7 separate regions of the Homo sapiens genome follow, and regions 2, 3, 4, 5, 6 and 7 are each linked to region 1. The links are contacts of gene promoters, found by promoter capture Hi-C in blood cells and fetal thymus (Javierre and others, 2016). All regions are on one chromosome and are shown on one strand. The core of a region is centred on a gene start or on the middle of the fragment in contact, and the rest is flanking DNA. Distances in the headings are between cores, read along the strand shown.

The links. Contacts are between HindIII fragments. The CHiCAGO score rates a contact against its expected background, and 5 or more counts as called.
Region 2: a fragment that was not itself captured here is called in contact with the fragment with the promoter of SLC9B1 in region 1 in 1 of 17 cell types (M2 macrophages); the score reaches 5.7 in M2 macrophages.
Region 3: a fragment that was not itself captured here is called in contact with the fragment with the promoter of SLC9B1 in region 1 in 1 of 17 cell types (total CD8 T cells); the score reaches 5.3 in total CD8 T cells.
Region 4: a fragment that was not itself captured here is called in contact with the fragment with the promoter of SLC9B1 in region 1 in 7 of 17 cell types (activated CD4 T cells, naive CD8 T cells, naive CD4 T cells and 4 more); the score reaches 8.0 in activated CD4 T cells.
Region 5: a fragment that was not itself captured here is called in contact with the fragment with the promoter of SLC9B1 in region 1 in 9 of 17 cell types (non-activated CD4 T cells, total CD4 T cells, total CD8 T cells and 6 more); the score reaches 12.6 in non-activated CD4 T cells.
Region 6: a fragment that was not itself captured here is called in contact with the fragment with the promoter of SLC9B1 in region 1 in 2 of 17 cell types (non-activated CD4 T cells and activated CD4 T cells); the score reaches 7.8 in non-activated CD4 T cells.
Region 7: a fragment that was not itself captured here is called in contact with the fragment with the promoter of SLC9B1 in region 1 in 10 of 17 cell types (monocytes, non-activated CD4 T cells, total CD4 T cells and 7 more); the score reaches 11.1 in monocytes.

Annotation. Positions count from the first base shown.
Region 1 is chr4:103,018,375-103,020,999 of GRCh38, forward strand. SLC9B1 (solute carrier family 9 member B1) reads right to left here and starts at 1,331. Exons shown (of 12, transcript NM_139173.4): 1 at 1,225-1,331. It also overlaps a transcript of SLC9B2 not described here. RefSeq lists an enhancer at 1,172-1,672. The HindIII fragment of the contact is 6,332 bases long and covers 1-1,966 here.
Region 2 is chr4:102,254,560-102,257,184 of GRCh38, forward strand. It overlaps a transcript of SLC39A8 not described here. Among named protein-coding and RNA genes, the nearest start is that of SLC39A8, 90 kb to the right of the region's middle. The HindIII fragment of the contact is 379 bases long and covers 1,129-1,507 here.
Region 3 is chr4:102,270,729-102,273,353 of GRCh38, forward strand. The region is part of intron 6 of SLC39A8 (solute carrier family 39 member 8); the gene reads right to left. Among named protein-coding and RNA genes, the nearest start is that of SLC39A8, 73 kb to the right of the region's middle. The HindIII fragment of the contact is 2,766 bases long and covers 1-2,625 here.
Region 4 is chr4:102,288,112-102,290,736 of GRCh38, forward strand. All of the region lies in intron 6 of SLC39A8 (solute carrier family 39 member 8), which reads right to left. Among named protein-coding and RNA genes, the nearest start is that of SLC39A8, 56 kb to the right of the region's middle. The HindIII fragment of the contact is 684 bases long and covers 951-1,634 here.
Region 5 is chr4:102,307,639-102,310,263 of GRCh38, forward strand. The region is part of intron 3 of SLC39A8 (solute carrier family 39 member 8); the gene reads right to left. Among named protein-coding and RNA genes, the nearest start is that of SLC39A8, 37 kb to the right of the region's middle. The HindIII fragment of the contact is 2,560 bases long and covers 60-2,619 here.
Region 6 is chr4:102,325,325-102,327,949 of GRCh38, forward strand. The region is part of intron 2 of SLC39A8 (solute carrier family 39 member 8); the gene reads right to left. Among named protein-coding and RNA genes, the nearest start is that of SLC39A8, 19 kb to the right of the region's middle. The HindIII fragment of the contact is 8,294 bases long and covers 1-2,625 here.
Region 7 is chr4:102,363,365-102,365,989 of GRCh38, forward strand. No RefSeq gene overlaps it. Among named protein-coding and RNA genes, the nearest start is that of SLC39A8, 19 kb to the left of the region's middle. The HindIII fragment of the contact is 640 bases long and covers 984-1,623 here.

The DNA of each region.
Region 1 (2,625 bases), core at 81-2,580:
ATCTGTATAGAATTTTAAAAAGTAAGTTAAAAAAAATTCTGGTACTCACAGGGGACAATACCTATGAATGCCCTTTTCATAGGCACACAGTGACTAAAATATTTGGGGCATGAATTCTCTAGGGGTGACAATAATAAGTGTCATTTTTCATGCTTCTGTTGCACACATAATTATATTTATCTCTAAGGAAAATCAGAGAGTGGGGTGTGGCCTCCCTCAGTGCCACCTGGGCCAGTTGTCTCCCCACATCACCAAATCTGTTATTTCACAGGCTCTAGGACACCCATAGAGGGGGAGTGAGGGACCTGGTATGGTCCCGTGAAGAGCTCTTGTAACACTACTGATTGATGTGACAGACACAGTATGTGTGCAACTTTCCTTTTTCCTTCAAAAGCACTGGTCTAAAGCAGGGATCCCCAACCCCTGGGCAGCAGACAGGTACAGGTTTGTGGCCTATTAGGAACAGGCCACACAGCAGGTGAGCAGGGCTAGAGGATTATGCCTGAGCTCCAGCTCCTGTCAGATGAGCAAAGGCATTAGATTCTCATAGGAGCACAGACCTGATTATGAACTGCGCATGTGAGGGATCTAAATTGCGCCTTCTCAAGAGAATCTAATGCCTGATGATCTGAGATAGAAGAGTGTCATCCCATCTTGCCCCCCACCCCAAACTGTCTTCCATGAAACTGATCCCTGGTGCCAAAAAGGTTGGGGACTGCTGGAAGTGCTTGTCCCCTGGGTTAAAGCCAAGAGGAGTAAACAGGATTAAGGGGCGTGGATGTGGGTGGGTGGGGGAAGAGAGCTTTCTCAGGATCGGCAACCAATCCCAGAATCTCCAGTCGCAGGAGCATGTATGTGAAGGTTTATTTGCAGGGATCCACCGTTTGTAAAATAGTACACGCTTAATAAAATTAATTTTGAGGTCAATCTTAACTGACAGATCTCTTCTTTCTTACTGGCGAGTATTTGTAAAATAAGAAAAACAGGAGGAAAAGAGAACAAACAAGAGAGATGTGGGATGACGGAGTAAGGAAAGGAGTCACGGAGAGGAGAGACAATGTCTGTGGCTGTTCCCTCAGCGTCTGGGAGAAGAGCCCAAGAATCCCATTGAACTGAGGGGGAGGAAAGGCCCTCCTGCGGCCTACCGCAAGGAAACGATCGCGGCAGACCCGGGACTAGCGCCAAAGGGCTTGGAAGGGCGGCGTTAAGAAAAATGGGCCGTACCTACAACTTCTTTCGCAGCCCTCGCTGGCCCGGGAGCGGCCCAGGAGCCCAGTGACCGTTGCGTAAGCCACGCGCCACCCAGGTGGGCAGGGTGGTGACGCGAAAGCCCGGATAGACTTCCGCGCAGGGGCGGGGCGGGGCGAGGAGGCGGCAGCGCGTTTAAGTGACGTCTTGGCTGTCCGCGCCGGCAGAGGCGAGGGTTCTGGGGTTTCTGGGACTGTCTGGTGTGTTTTCTGTCTATTGAACCCTTTCCTTTCGACGTCTCTTCTGAATATTGACTCATCGGGTTGTAGAAATCCAGGGACAGAGTTGACATCACTGGGCATTTTAGCCAAAAAGCAGTGCTCGGGACTGCATGTGCCAGAAGTAAACTTGTCAAAACTCAGATTGTGTTTCCCCTAAAGTCAGCTTAAAGTGCAATGGTAGAAGAGCACGGTCTCTCCCCAAGACGGCCTGAGCTTAAACTGCAGCGCTGTCACTTGCTAGCTATGGGACCTAGGCAAATACATCGTCTCCCTGAGGTTGTCTTCTCATCTGTAAAGGACGCTGTGGTGGTGGTGTGAGAATAAATGAGACATGGCAAGTGTCTGGAACAAAGACGCTGTGTACAAAGTAAACACTTAATATACTGTTATCAGTATAAAACCTTTGTGAGTTTTTTTTTTTTTTCCGCATGAAATCTTATGTGGAAAGTTGTATGTGAAAGAAATGAAAGCGGAGCTGCGTTGATGGTGGGCCCAGAAGCTTTGGCCTTTCAGTCCCAAAGTTTCCAGTAATAGAATCCGCGCTTCCTATAAAAGACAAAAACAACTGTTATTGGAGAAAGTGTAAACTTCTTAGAAAGACAAACTGCCCTTTCCTATCTAATGTTTCTCCTGACACTCAATGTTTACTCTTGAACACTGTATTCCTTTTTGCCTCAGTGCGTTCTGTAAAGTTAATTCCTCTACCGGAGTGTTCTTTTTCTTAGTCATCATCTAAGATCTGATCCAAATTACCGTTCCTTCTTGGGTAACTTAAATACGAAATTATCTTTTTATTGGTTTTGTTGACGTTGTTGAGACAGGGTCTCACTCTATTACCCCGGCTGGAGTGCAGTGCGATCTAGGCTCCCTGCAGCCTCCTCCTCCTTGGTTCAAGCGATCCTCCTGCCTCCTGAGTAGCTGGGACTACAGGTGGGCACCACTACCCCCGGCTAATTTTTGTATTTTTAGTAGAGAGGAGTTTCACATATTGCCCAGGAGGACTTGAACTCCTGGACTTAAGTGATCTGCCCGTCTTGGCTTCCCACAGTACTGGGATTACAAGCGTGAGCCACCACAGCCCTGCCCTTTTTATTGTTTTTAACACCTTCCCTCCTTCAACGTGTTATAGACATCTCAGCAAGGATTTATTTTTCTT
Region 2 (2,625 bases), core at 68-2,567, 760 kb before region 1:
GAGGCATGTGCCTTAAAAAGCCAGATGTCTGTAAAAATCAAATAATAACTTGACAACCAGGTGATGGTTGCTAGGAAACTGCATTTTTCTGTGAAAACATGATGTATGAAGTGTAGCCTAGATTCATATCCTACATTAAACATCTTCCTTGGAGTTATCTATGAAGTCTGATTTTGCATGGCTTGTCAAGGTATATAAGTTATTCCCTCAGTTATCCTGCTCCTGCTCTTAAAAATCATATGGTTCTATACATAGAATATTATTTCAACACCATTATTTGTTCTGAACTCAAGGTTGTTTAGGTTATAGATTGAGGCCCCTTTTGGCTCCAAAACTTTTCAGTGGCATCAAATGTTAGTTACCCTCTCATAGTTGTCACTGAGGAACAACCTTCACTTTTGATGTATTAATTGTGCTAAGTGAAAAAAAGTAAAATATGTACAATGTTTCTATGTATTCCAAAGTGAAATAAAAATAAATAGAAATTATCCATGAGTTTTGAAAGATTTTTGCTCACCACTACTGGAACATAATAGAGATTTTACTATACTCTGCCTAGGAAGTTGACTCCTGACATTGATAGTGAAGTTCCAGAAAGTGCTGAGGAACTTTGCTAAATTCAAGAGCTGGGAATTTTGTTTGAAATAAATATCTCAATATTTAACTGCTGTATTAATTAGAAAAATTGTATTGCAAGAAACAGAAACCCAAATCAAATTAGTTAAAGCCAAAAAGGACATACTGAGATACTAGAATAACTTGGGTAACTTACAAAATTGAAGGAACTAAAGAAAAATAACTGAAAAGTACTAAGGATGTCAGGAACTAGAACCAAAGACAACACAACTCTCTCCAATCAGTCCCCATAGCTTCTACTGTTTTCTCAGCATCCATCTCATTTTCCCGGGTTTCTCCTTGTGCCAGGAACATGACCACCAGAAGCTCTGGGGTCAAATACAAGAGGCAAGAGTTTTGGCTCTCCACATCCTTAGAAGTTTCTGTGTAAAGATTACAATTGACCCAGACTGGGTGACTTGCCCAGCTTGTGGCAAATGGGTGAGGTTAAGTGCATTGGTTGACAATCTCCAGTAGGGGTTGGGAGAAACCAGTTTCTAAAAGGAAGAGTGAAGCTTTTACATGGACAAGGGCAGAAGTCAAGGTATGCAGAAACAATCAACAGAAGTGCATTACTCCAAACATATCCAGCAATGATTTTAATACCACTTTCACCAGTTTTGTCACCACAAAGTGACAGGACAACCCAGCTCCTAACTTATACAATGTCATCTTTATGACTATTCTAAAATGCTTTGAACTTTTTCATCTTAAAACACCAAAGGATCGCTATGACAGCGCAGGTGCTTTTTCTCACGTGCATCCTTCTACGAAATGCTTAGACATGAATTCTGAGGCTTACTTTTCACAAATTAAAAGATTTTTTCATGGAAACACAAAAGATACAAAAAGTAGAAAGATCCATATGAAGCACCTTCCTCCACAGTTTCTAAGCTTCTAAAATCAATGTTTCCCAGTTCATTAACAAGCTCGTACATAATTATTAGAGTAACACCATTAAGGTTAGCACATACAATGACTCCCAAAGAAAAAACATTGTCTATTTATAAGCATTGCTGTGAATGGGTGGAACGTCTCAGCAATACAGTCACAAGCAGCAGTCCCGGTGTTCTCACTCAGATATTCCACGTAGCACTTCATAGTATGCTTTAAGTGAGGGAATGTGACCTATAGATACATCTACACGAGAAGGATTCCCATAAGGCATAAACTGTTCAATAAACAATCATAAAAATATATTCATTCTTCCCTATCTAGAAATCTATGTCTTTATTTAAAAATACGTGATGATTCATGCTTAAGGACGTGTTGTTGGACAGTTGGTTACAGTCTTTTATCTAGTCAAAAGATTCTTATCTGCCAGAAATGTGATAAGTCCACTTATAACTAGTCTCTCAAAACATCCTAGATATTTTTCTCTGTATGCATAGTTAATCATACAAATTAATCTAACCTAATGCCATCTTGTTACCCTAAAATGTTTAATGATAATGGCTTATCATCTTTCATCCCCATAAATTTTCTCCTTGCTTTCAGTGAGCAGCAACTTCACTCCCATATACGCACTTGTTGTGTATTCCTTCTCCTGCCAAATTCACACAGTCACCTCCTCTTCCAGGATAAGACGTTTACTGCTGATAATCACAGCCACAGGGGAAACAAAGAACTGCCATGCTCAAATGAGGGTAAGGTGAGGCAGGTCCATTAATTTACAAAGGGACTGATTACAAACATGCAAGTGGGGTGCAGGGAAACCACAGGTGATGCTACATGAACGCAGGGCTGAAGACAGTAGAGCTGTTACTACCCCTAGGCCAAAGGGACAGAGAGATAGTGGGCACCAAAACCAAAGGAGGGGAATCTACAGGCAGGTGCTGGCCCAGCAACAGTTTTTTAGATGAACTAGGTACGGAAATTGAGAATAAGCATTTATAAACTTCAACAGTAATCCCAAAGAATAATTGTGTCTAATAAAAAATGAGGTTTATCTAATAATAAAAATGGGGTTGGATTTTCTATGTCTTTTTTTTTTTTTCCAAGATGGAGTCT
Region 3 (2,625 bases), core at 90-2,589, 750 kb before region 1:
TGTAACACCTTTCACTTAGTTATTAATGGGGATGGAAGTCAAAGCAATGTGTAGTGTTATCAGAATGGGGGAGAAAGAATATCATGCACCAAAGTTAAAAAAATAGAGGGAGACTATGTTGAATCCCAACATAAATTGGAGGGCAAAAAACAAAATTTTTTTCAAAAAAAGTACTTAGAAATTAAAATGGAGAAAACAAATGGGCTTATTGCAGAACAGTTTAAGGAAGGAGGAGAAAGTTGTAGAGGATGAGGAGGCCTGGGGGAATAGGGAGCACAAGGAAAGGGAGAAGTAGCATGAGGAGGAGGAGGAGGAAGACAAGTATAAGGAGGATGAGAAGGAGGATGAGGAAGAGGATGAAGAGAAGGATGATTAGGAGGAGGACAAGGTGGAGCATGTGGAGAAGGAGGAAAAGGAAAACAGGGAGAACAAGGAGAAGGAAACGAGCAAGCATGAGTAAGAGGAGCAGGAAGAGGACTAAAAGGAGGAGAAAGATAAGGACAGACAAGAAGGACACAAAGGAGGAGGTGAAGAATATATGGAAGAGTCTCTTTTAATAAGTACAGAATGTGAATCTAATTCTATTCCACTAAATCTCATAAAAGGCCATCACAGAGGATAGCTTCAGTAATAAAGTGAACAAGAAAATCTGATTGTCACTCAGTATCCTTCATCAACCATCCAAATGTTTGCTTAATGGACCCACATATAAAGCACAGAGTGGTGCAGAGGGAGGATATATATAGGTTCAGCATTCTCTTCTCCTACCAGGGGGAATCTGGCTTTCCAGCACTAAAGAAGTCCCAAACTTCAAAAGCCAAGGCTGATGCTGAGCCCCCAAAAAGCTATCACTGTCCAACAGGGCAAGAGGACCAGGTGGCTGTATGTGGTAGCAGAATGATTCCACTGGATTCCTCCCATTATAAGGGGATGCTCTTGGACTCACAAAGATAGACATATACAATATATGTCTTCCCTGCCTTCAGTGCCTCTGCAAGCACCATCATTCATGGACTTATAGTGCAACTGATATATAGCCAAGGTTTCCTGTGAAAACTATCTCCTAACCATTTTTTAGCAAAGGAAGTGAGACAGTGGGCTCAATACATATAATTCATGGATCACATCACCTGCACCCTCTAGTAGCAACCAGTTTGACAGAATGATGAAATGTCCTGATGAAGCCTCAGCCAGGGTGCAAGCCAAGAGATAACACCCTGAGAGGTTGGAGTTCTGTTCATAGGTTGGGCAGCCAAGTATATGGTGTCATCTCTGCTGTAGAGAATGCACAAATCCAGGAACCAAGAGGTGAGAGTAAAAGGGGTATAAGTCAGGCTCAGGGGCTCCTGCCAGTAATCCCAGCACTATGGGATGCCAAGGGGGAGGACTGCTTGAGGCCAGGTGTTCAAGACCAACCTGAACAACATAACTAGACCTCGTCTATACAAAAAATATATTACTTTGGGAGGCCGACACAAGCAGATCACGAGGTCAGGAGATCGAGACCATCCTGGCTAACATGGTGAAACCCCGTCTCTACTAAAAATACTAATAAAAAAAATTAGCTGGGAGTGGTGGTGGGCGCCTGTAGTCCCAGCTACTCAGGAGGCTGAGGCAGGAGGATGGTGTGAACCCGGGAGACAGAGCTTGCAGTGAGCCGAGATCGCAGTGAGCCGAGCCTGGGTGACAGAGTGAGACTCCATCTCAGAAAAAAAAAAGAAAGAAAGAAAAAATTACCCAGGTATGGTGTCATGAGCTTATGTTCCCAGCTACTCGAAAGGCTGAAGGAGAGTTACAGTGAGCTATGATTGCGCCACTGCACTCCAGCTGGGCGACAGAGTTAGACCTTGTCTCTAAATAAATAAACAGATAAATAAAGTAATCTATCTTATTTTTATGCCTAATACACCACTTAAAGAATTCTTACTGACAGGCCAGATGGCCAAGTAGGAACAGCTCTGGTCTGTAGCTCCTAGCCAGACCAACGCAGAAGGTAGGTGATTTCTGTATTTCCAACTGAGGTACCCAGTTCATCTATTCAGGATGGTTAGACAGTGGGTGCAGCCCTCTGAGGGCAAGCAGAAGCAGGGTGAGGACCCAGGAAGTGCAAGGAGCCGGGGACCTCCCTCCTGGAGCCAAAGGAGGCCATGAGGAGCCATGCCATGAGGGACAGTGCTCTCCAGCCCAGATACTATGCTTTTCCCAAGGTCTTTGCAACCTACAGACCAGGAGATTCCCTAGGGTGCCTACACCTCAAGGGCCCTGGGTTTCAACCACAAAACTGGGTGGTTGTTTGGGCAGACACCAAGCGAGCTACAGGAGTTTTTTTCCATACCCCAGTGGTGCCTGGAACACCAGCAAGACAGAATCATTCACTCCCCTGGAAAGGGGGCTGAAGCCAGGGAGCCAAGTGGTCTTGCTCAGCGGGTCCCACCTCCATGGAGCCTGGAAAGCTAAGACCCACTGGCTTGAAATTCTCGCTGCCAGCACAGCAGTCTGAAGTCAACCTGGGGCACTCGAGCTTGGTGTGGGGAGGGGCATCTGCCATTACTGAGGCTTGAGTAGGCAGTTTTCCCTTCATAATGTAAACAAAGCCTCCAGGAAGTTCAAACTGAGCGGAGCCCA
Region 4 (2,625 bases), core at 43-2,542, 730 kb before region 1:
TTGCAACCCTGCATTGAGCAAGTCTATCAGCACCATTTTTCTATCAGCATGTGCTCATTTCATGCCTCTGTGCCACATTTTGGCAATTCTCACAATATTTCAAACTTTTTCATTATTATTATATCTATTATGGTGATCTGTAATCAGTGATTTTGATGTTACTATTGTCATTGTTTTGGGACACCATGACTGTGCCCCCATAAGATGGCAGACTTAACCAATTAATGTTGTATGTGTTCTGACTGCTCCGGTGACCAGCCATTCCCCCAATTTCCTCCCTTCTGTAGGGCCTCTCTATTCCCTGAGACACAAGAGAATTGAAATTATGCTAACTAATAATCCTAAAATGGCCTCTATGTGATCAGGTAAAAGGAGAATTGCATGTCTCTCACTTAAAATCAAAAGATAGAAATGATTAAACTTAGTGAGGAAAACATGTCAAAAGCCAAGATAGACCAAATCTAGGTTTTGTGTGCCAAACAGCCAAGCTGTGAATGCAAAGGAGAACTTCTTGAAGGAAATTAAAAGTGCTACTCCAATGAACACACAAATGATAGGAAAGCAAAGCAGCATTATTGCTGACATGAGTAAAATTTGAGTGGTTTGGATAGAAGATCAAACCACCCACAACATACCCTAAAGTAGGAGCAAGCCCCTCTTTTCAATTCTATGAAGGCTGAGAGAGGTGACAAAGCTGAAGAAGAAAGGTTGGAAGGTAGCAGAATTGGTTCATTGGGTTTAAGAAAAGAAGCCATCTCTATGACATAGAAGTGCCAAGTGAAGTAGCAAGTTCTGATGGAGAAGTTATCCAGGAGATCTAACTAAAATCATTGATGAAGGTGGCACACTAAACACCAAATTTTCAATGTTGGTAAAACAGCCTTCTGTTGGAAGAAGATGCCATCCAGGGCTTTCATAGCTAAAGAGAAGAAGTCAGTGCCTGGTTTCAAAGCTTCAAAGGACAGGCTGACTCTCTTGTTTGGGGTTAATGCAGCTGGTAACTTTAAGTTGAGACCAATGATCATTTACCATTCCAAAACTTCTAGGGCCCTTAATAATTGTGCTAAATTTACTCTGTCTGTGCTCTAGAAATGAAACAACACAGCCTGGATGGTAACACATCTGTTTACAGCATGGTTTACTGAATATTTTCAGTCCACTGTTGGGACCTACAGCTCAGAAAAATAAAAGAAATTCCTTTCAAAATATTACTGCTTATTGACAGTGCATCTAGTCACCTAAGAGCTCTTACGGGGATGTACAAGGAGATGAATGTCGTTTTCATGCCTGCCAACATAACATCCCTCCTGAAGTCCATGGGTCAAGGAGTAGTTTTGACTTACAAGTCATATTATTTAAGAAATACATTGTGTAAGACTGTAGCTGCCATAGTAGTGATTCCTATAATGAATCTCAGCAAAGGAAGTTGAAAACCTTCTAGAAAGGATTCATCAATCTAGATGCCATTAAGAACATTTATGATTCATGGGAGGAGGTCAAAATATCCACATTTACAGGAGTTGGGAAGAAGTTGATTCCAACCTTCATGGATAACTTTGAGGTGTTCAAGAATCCAGTAAAGGAAGTCACGGTAGGTGTACGGGAAATAGCAAGAGAATTACAATGAGAAGTTAAGCTTGAAGATGGAAGTGAATTGCTGCAATCTCATGATCAAACTTGAATAAATGAGCAGTTGCTTCTCATGAATGAGCAAACAAAGTGGTTTCTTGAAACAGAATCTACTGCTGGTATAGATGCTGTGAACAACGTTGAAATGACAACAAAGGATTTAGAATACTTCATAAATGTAGTTGACAAAGCAGTGGTAGAGGTTCAGAGGATGGCATCCAATGTGGAAAGAAGTTCTACTGTGGGTAAAATGCTGTCAAACAGCATGTTCTCGCATGTACAGAGAAATCTTTCATGAAAGAAGCAATCGATGTTGCAAACTTCATTGTTTTAAAATACTTCCACAGTCACTCCAAACTTCAGCAACCACCACCCTGGTCAGCAGCCGTCAACATCAGAGGCACGGCCCTCCACTTACAAAAACATTAGAACTTGCTGAAAGCTTGGATGATCAGTAGCACTTTTTAGCAATAAGGTATTTTTAAATTAAGATATCAATGTCATTGTTTAGACATAATGACAGTGCACACTTAATAGACTATAGTGTAGTGAAAACATATCTTTTATATTCACTGGGAAACCAGAAATCATGTGACCTGCTTTATTGTGATATTTACTTTATTGCAGTGGTCTGGAACCAAATTCATCTGATTTTGACACCGACTATGGTTCAGAGAATATCTGAGCAGGGACAGCCTTCCAGGAGGTAAAGAACATAATGATGTTTCTGGAACTTCATACAAAGAAGCAGACTACTTTCATGTGATCACCTGGCTCCCAGTGCACTCCAGAGTTTCAAGGCATACTGTTCTCCTTGTCTACAACAGTGTGTGATTCTAACTAGATGGGCCACCACTCTGTATCTCACAGCTGTGTAGTACATGGTTGAGTTTGTAGGTGTGAAGAAGGTAAACGTCAACAATTTGGCCCCTGAAAATGAGGACACTGGCTCAGGGCTGAGGATTCTGACTTTCTACTCAGCAATGTATTATCATC
Region 5 (2,625 bases), core at 90-2,589, 710 kb before region 1:
ATCAGAGCAAGGAACCAAATGATGTTTTCCTGTACATTAAGCTTAAAAGTGTCTTTAAAAGCTTAAGACACATATCTTCTTTAAAAGAACAAAATCTACTCAATGAAAAGTATATAGAAAACTGAGAATACAAATATGGCATAGCAAGCATTAATAGTAATACTGTTTATGTTTTAATCAGCCCTAAATCATCATTATGGGATTAATGAGTTTTACAGCTTGCAGGGAAATTGGAGAACATCTAGAACAGCGAACAGCGACAAACAATCTGAGATCCACAGGCTCCAAGCCACCTAGTTTCATCTATGGCTCAAGGAATAGATTAAAACAGCATTTTGAAAAAAAAGAAAAAACAGGGGCAGTGTGAGCCTCAGGACAAAGGTATGGGGTGATGGGTGGGAGGGCAGGGATGGAGATGGGTCACAGTGAGCTAGCTTCAAGGTGACCATAGCTGCTAACACTGAGTTTGTCACAATCATTTGTCTTCAGACTCCTGAGGACAGCATCTCCTCAGAGAAGGTGGCACCAGCAGCACCTCAGGTCCCCAGCTGGAGCCTCCTGGGAATCAAAGTCAGTCTGATGCAATAAGCACTCAGGAAGTGAGCACATGGGGCAGGAGGGAGCAGCTGCATTACATAACCCACCCTGTGAGACACAAATTAGGCAAAAATATTCCATACAGAAGAGATGCTGGTGACAGAAAAAGGTGGTGCATCTTTCATCTCTGGAGACCCAGGGCCTGGCACCCAGTAGGCACACAATAAGTATTGCTTAGAATAAAATGAATGAATACTATCCTAAGCTCTATAGCTAATGGCATGTGTGACCTATTGCCTTTGGGCCTCAATTTCCCTCTCTCTATCTTAAAGGGGCTGGTGTAAGGACAAAATGGGAACACAAGTGAAACATACCCAGGACAGTCACCTATGTGTGGGTGCAGGCTGAGATACAACGTGGCCTCAGGGCTGTGCAACATGTGACTTTGCCTCTGGCCCCACACACTGTACACAAAGTACAGTGTGACAGAGGAGAAAGCTGCCTCTGCATAGCCACTTCTTTAAAATATCCAGAAAGCATGTTTAAATGGTGGGCCACTTTTCTCCATGGCACTGTCAGTGGAGTACACTAGTAACACCTACAGCTCAGGGAGCATTTGCCATGTGCCAGGCCCTGTGCTAAGTGATCAACATATGTCAACTTATTTGAACCTCACAAAACCCTGTAAGAGAAATACTACTACCTCCTTCATACAGTTGGGGAAACCAAAGCAGATGGAATTCAAGTAACCTGCCAGAATCACGCAGATAGAAAGCTGGATTTTGAACCTGGACAGTCTGGCTCCCAGGCCCACATTTTTTAGCATATGCTTTATTATTCCTTTAGAGATAATCTCATTTTTCAAAAGCCCAAAGGACTCAATAAAACTGTAAAAATGTTTTCCTGAATTATACATACTTTATTAACACGAGATTGTTCACTATAATTATTGTTAGTCTAGAATTTCTATGTACAAATAAACAAACTTAGTAAATGTTCATTCAGCCTAGATGACGTGGACCAAACCATGGCTCCTGCCACCACACACACACAAACACACACAAGTGCAAACACACACACAGAGTGATACAAAGTCACCTGTGCTAAGTACCAAATGAAAAGGTCAGATTATAAATGGTACTATGTAACCCCGAGAATCATCACAGCACTGACCATGACGACTGCATCTTCTCCAGACACTTTCCTATCAGTTGCAGGTCCTGGCCATGCCCTACAACTTCACCTAACAGCCCACTTCATTCCCATTTATTACCTTATCACCTTAAACAATACTACTAGTCCCCACAGACATTCCACTTGGAGAGAGTTCTCAATTCCACACCTTTTATCGTGGTAGATCTACATGGAATTTCTCTTAACACAAACATACTTCTATCCATCACTAGCCTACATGCCTTCATTCATTCAACAAATATTTATAATCTCATTGGGTAGACAAGATATATACATGTTGAAAACTAAAATTAAAAGGCAAAGAAATTGTTAAGTGCCAATAGAAGCAAAGCCACATGCACATGTTAAACTCATCAGCTTCCCTGCAAACACCTGTTCCATTACCCTTGTTCACTACCTACATAAATAACAGGAACAGTAGGATCAATTTCAGTTTTTCACTTTCCACCAATTAATTCCATAGACAACTGGTGATCAAACCCTACCAGTTCTGCTTCAGGCATCTCTCACCTCTAGCCTCTCCATCCTCATTGCCAGTGGTCTTGAAGTCAGACCCTCATCACCTCTCACTCCCTCATCTTATATAACATGACAGTTATCGATCTGGTGCCCCTCCTACTAGCTGACATGGCCTACAGACTTATACTAAATCACAAAAGTGATCATCTCATGCCCCCATTTGAAATCGCCCCTCATAAACTGACCCTTGCACAGCCTCTCCAGTGTTATTTACCCCCTTCTCAACATGGCCTTTACCCAAACACTATGTTTTCCCAACCGAGCTTTACCTTTACACTGTGGTTCTCTGTCTGAAAACACTTTCCTATCTTCCTTGCCTAAGAAAGTCATACGTGGCCTTCCAAGCCAACACAAAGATCTCCTCTATGAAGCTTC
Region 6 (2,625 bases), core at 93-2,592, 690 kb before region 1:
TTTTCTTACACTTCTTACTGAAGTCACTCTGGCACTGATGCCACCAACACACATGCACTCTCACATACATGCACACTCACACTCATATACACACACACTCACATGCATACACATACATACACACACACTTACGTTCACTCTCAAAACTCTTTTTGAAGGGAAGATGAAGAACGCTTTTCCTGAATATACAATTTAAAGGATAAAGATGCCTTGTTTTATGATGCACTGCTAGGGATAAAAAGATTATTATGAAACAATATATAGAGAATGCTGCTATAAATAAGGATAAATCTGTGCTCCAAATGTTAACAGTGTTTATCTCTGAGTGGTAAAATTATGTGTGGTTTTATTTTTTTTCCTTTCTGCTTCTTTATATCTGCCAAAGTTTTTAACAATGTACTTGTATTTCAGTTTCTTTTAAGAAAAATAAAATTAAGTCATGTTTTGTTTGTTTAAAATCTCTTTTTCCAGGTTCCCCTAAACAAAAGGCAGGCTGGAATTCTTAGAGATTTTACTAAAGAAAAAGAAAGAATGTTGAAAGCTACAACAATCTTTTTAAAAGAGGTTTACAACATTTTCTGTCTTTGTCATAGTGATGGACAAGTTTCCCAGCCCTACCCCATTCCATATTCAGCTTTTCGAGGTCTTGTCTTGAAAAGAGAAGGTGTTCTTTTAGACTCCTAAAAGTGTGGTGTGGTGTCAGAGCACAGACACCCAATCTAGATCCTTCGCTTCCCACCCCTGACATGTCTTCAGGGGGCAGAGGCCACCCTACTTCCCATCATCTGCTAGGGAATCCCATGGGCATTATCCCATTTTGCCAAGATCAAAAGCCTTTGTTTCCTTGATGTACACCAAGGGTTTCCCACTCAGTCCTTCTGAGGATAAAGTGTGGAGGGCATGCTGCTTCTTCAACTCAGGGCTGGGGAGTTGCCACAAGAAATGAGTGCACCTTGGCCGGGTGCGGTGGCTCACGCCTGTAATCCCAGCACTTTGGGAGGCCGAGGCGGGCAGATCACAAGGTCAGGAGATCGAGACCATCCTGGCTAACACGGTGAAACCCCGTCTCTACTAAAACTACAAAAAATTAGCCAGGCCTCGTGGCGGGCGCCTGTAGTCCCAGCTACTCGGGAGGCTGAGGTCTGAGAATGGGGTGCACCCAGGAGGCAGAGCTTGCAGTGAGCCGAGATCGCGCCACTGCATTCCAGCCTGGGCGACAGAGCAAGACTCCGTCTCAAAAAAATAAAAAATAAAATTAGCATGGAATGGGTTTATTGTTATGTTTAATAAATTAAATATTTTCAAGTTTTCTTAACATTAATTTCTATAATGGTAAGTATTAATAGATATAAATCACATATATTAAGGCTCTTTGGTATTCTCAATAATTTTTAAGAGTACAAGGGGGTCCTGAGACCAAAATGTTTGAGAATCTAGCAGATAAAAATGACACACCAGCAGAGAGAGCCCTTATGTACCACTTCACTGAGGAGCTAGGAGCTTCTAACCTAATCGTATCCAATACCCTTCTCATCCTGGTTATCCTACAACTCCACAAGGTTGTTTCTACTGATGCATCACCCATCAGCATGTCCTTCTTCTGCCCAAACTGCAACCCTTGCACACACACATACCAAAAAAACAAAAACAAAAACCTTCAAAATTACACATTTCTGGCCTGGCATGGTGGCTCACACTTGTAATCCTAGCACTTTGAGACACCAAGGCAGGAGGATCACTTAAGCCCAGGAGTTCAAAACCAGCTTGAATGACAAAAATAATTAAAAATTAGCTAAGCATGATGGTGCACACCAGTAGTCCCAGTTACTCAGAAGGATGAGCAGGAGGATCGCTTGAGCCCAGGAGGTCAAGGCTGCAGTGAGTCATGATCGTGCCACTGCAATCCAGCCTGGGTGACACAGTGAGACCCTGTCTCAAAAAAATTGTACACATTTATGCCGAGAGTCTAAAGTCCTAACACTTAAGAACCTCACTTGCCTGTCTCTAATATTCCTTCCCCCTTCAGCATGCTGTAAAAGGATAGATGAATACTCTATCCTAACCAGTTATAATCAGCCTTATATTGTAACTTCACTGTGACTTTGCATCTCCCATGACCCCTGCCTAGAATATGATACATCTCCTCTCAAACTACCCAACTCCTGTCTGTCCTGCAAGGCCCATTTGGAATCCATCTTCACTGCCTAATATTGCTATACCCATCCCTTCTCCAGACTCCAGACATCCCTGTTATCTATTTGTTTAGCACTTAATGTGTGCTTCCATGTATTATTATCTTCTCATGAAATGGATATTCCTTCAATAAGATCATAAAAATCTACAGAGAATGGACTTCTTCCTTTTTATATCTTCTTCAACCCCTAATAAGTCCTTGGACACATAAGACACTCAATTTATAAACAATTGCTAATTTTGTAGATTAAGGAAAGAAGGTGAATGAAAGGAGATTTCAAACTAGCACACTGTGTTTGAATATAATTCTGAGAAATATAAATCAATAACCTGGGAATCATCTACCAAGACCTCTGAGGAGGCAAATATTCCAGCCATAAGTTTTTCTTCTCATTCTATGAAACTTTCCTAGAATCAGTTTAATGTGGCCCT
Region 7 (2,625 bases), core at 54-2,553, 660 kb before region 1:
CAAATACAGCATTTGAGCGGACCTGTGGGGATTTCAGGTCAGCTGAAGTGAAGAGGTTGGTTTCCCAGGAAATCTACAGGAAATACATGGAGGGCAAGGCACAGCCTTGATGAACCTTACAAACTGCTCTCAGTGAGTGGTTCTCATCAAGGAAGCCTCAAGATGGTGAAGAATGCATGTTCTAGCTGGGACCCTGTCAGCAGCGCATTGCTACCACCAAGTTAAAGTTATTTCCAGCACAAACCAGTGTTGTTTTGCTCAAGAGAATGCTTAATCCCTACCAGCCTCTTAGCAACCGTGTGCCATTATTCTCAAGAGAAGGGGCAGGGCAGGAACAATATTACCCCATCACTGAAAAACCCTCAAGTTGCAGAACATGCTAATGATGAGCTGGTAAAAACATTGCCATCACTAACTATATGAGAAAGCCACTATAGAAATCAGTTCCTTAAAAACACTGTAAGACTGCATGATTATTTTGATTCTCAATTTAACAGGCAATAACTTTTACTACAAGTAAACTTTGGTTTGATTCCAAAGAATAGCTAACGAGATCATGCAAATTTCAAAAATACAATTCCTTCACTTATTCAACAGATATTTTTGGGGTGCCTAGTAGACACTCTTCTGTGTACTGAAGAATCATCGATGAACAAAACAGGTTGCCGGGTGGTGGGGAGGAGAAGGGGAGGGGATGGTTAATAGGTACAAAAAAATAATTAAAATTAATGAATAAGTCCTAGTATCTGACAGCACAACAGGGTGACTATCGTCAATAATAATTTAATTGTACATTTAAAAATAACTAGAAGAATATAATTAGATTGCAACACAAAGGATAAATGCTTGAGGGAGTGAATACCCCATCTTCCATGATGTGCATATAATATTAAGTGGGGAGAAAAACACAAGAATACAAAACTATAGAATATAATACTTGAGCTTATAAGAACAATTAATTGAGGCATATATAGGCAAAAATAAGCTTTCAGACATAGATATTGATTTAGGAAAAGAAAAGAAAACATAGATATACATAACAGCTACTAGTGTTATATTTGGCATGAGATTACCAATAGTATTTTTTAAAGTATTTTCTGCGCTTTCTAAAATTTCATAATGAGTACATCATCGGTGGCAAATTAATACTACATCATGTATGTTTAAATGCAAAAAACAGGATAAGATGCCACTTTATTCATCACTGCCAAAACTTGGAGGCAACCAAGATCTCCTTCAGTAGGTGAATGTAAAAATAAACAGTAGTATAGGCATACAATGGAATATTATACAGTAGTGTAGGCATACAATGGAATATTATAAAAAGAAATAAACTATCGAGCCACAAAAAGACATGGAGGAATTTAAGTGCATATTGATAAATGAAAGAAGTCAATCTGCAAGGGCTACATACTGTATGATTCCAACTATGTGACCTTCCAGGGAAGGCAAAACTATGGCAACAATCAAACGATCAGCAGTTGCCAAAAGGCCGAGAGGAGGCAGGGATGCTTAATAGGTACAACACAGAGCATTTTAGGACAGTACTACTATTCAGTATACACCGTAGTGGTGGATATATATTATATATTACCAAACCCTGACGTACAGCACCAAGAGCGAAGCTTAATGTAAACAGTGGGCTTTAGTTAATAATAATGTATCAATACTGGCTCATCAATTGCAACAAATATATTGCAATAATGCAAAATGTTACTAAGAGAAACTTGTAGAGGGATACAAGGAGGTTTATGGCAACTCTCTGCTCATTTTTCTGTCGACCTAAAACTGTTCTAAAATAGAATTTATTAATTTTTTAAGCAATAGGCTAAGATGAACTCTCTCACTTTGACCTTCCAGTGTTATAGGATTCAACCCATGGATAATACAGGTTTGGGCCGTAACCCCAAAAGACACAATCCTGAAGGCCATAATCCCAAATGTTGAAATCCCAAAAGATCAAAATCCTTAAAATCCCAAAAATCACCATCCTGAAAAGTCAAAATTCCAAAAATAAAACTCTGGAAAAAATAAATTTAAAAAATTATTTAAAAGACATTTGTTTACATTTTCATTTTTATTACTTATTATTATTATTATTTGAGACAGAGTCACTTTGTCACTCAGGCTGGAGTGCAGTGGCTCAATCTTGGTTCACTGAAACTTCTGCCTCCCGGTACAAGTGACTCTCGTGCCTCAAACTCCCAGAAGTACAGGCGCACACCACCATGCCCAGCTAATTTTTTGCATTTTTAGTAGAGATGGGATTTCGCTATGTTGGCCAGACTGGTCTGAAACTCCTGACCTCAAGTGATCCACTCACCTTGGCCTCCCAAGTGTTGTGATTATAGGCATGAGCCACCGCACCCAGCCTACATTTTTAAAAGGAAACTTACTTGAGAAACACGTAAAAACATAGCTGAACACTTCATATGCCACTTTTTGCAATAAAATGGGCAATGATAATGACATATTTTTGCAAGAATAAAACTCAGGTATACTAACAACAGTTGCACAAGTGTGGCAGTTATAAGCAGACAAACTGGCCGGGCGCAGTGGCTCATGCCTGTAATCCCAACACTTTGGGAGGCCGAGGTGGGTGGATCACCGGAGATCAGGGTTTGA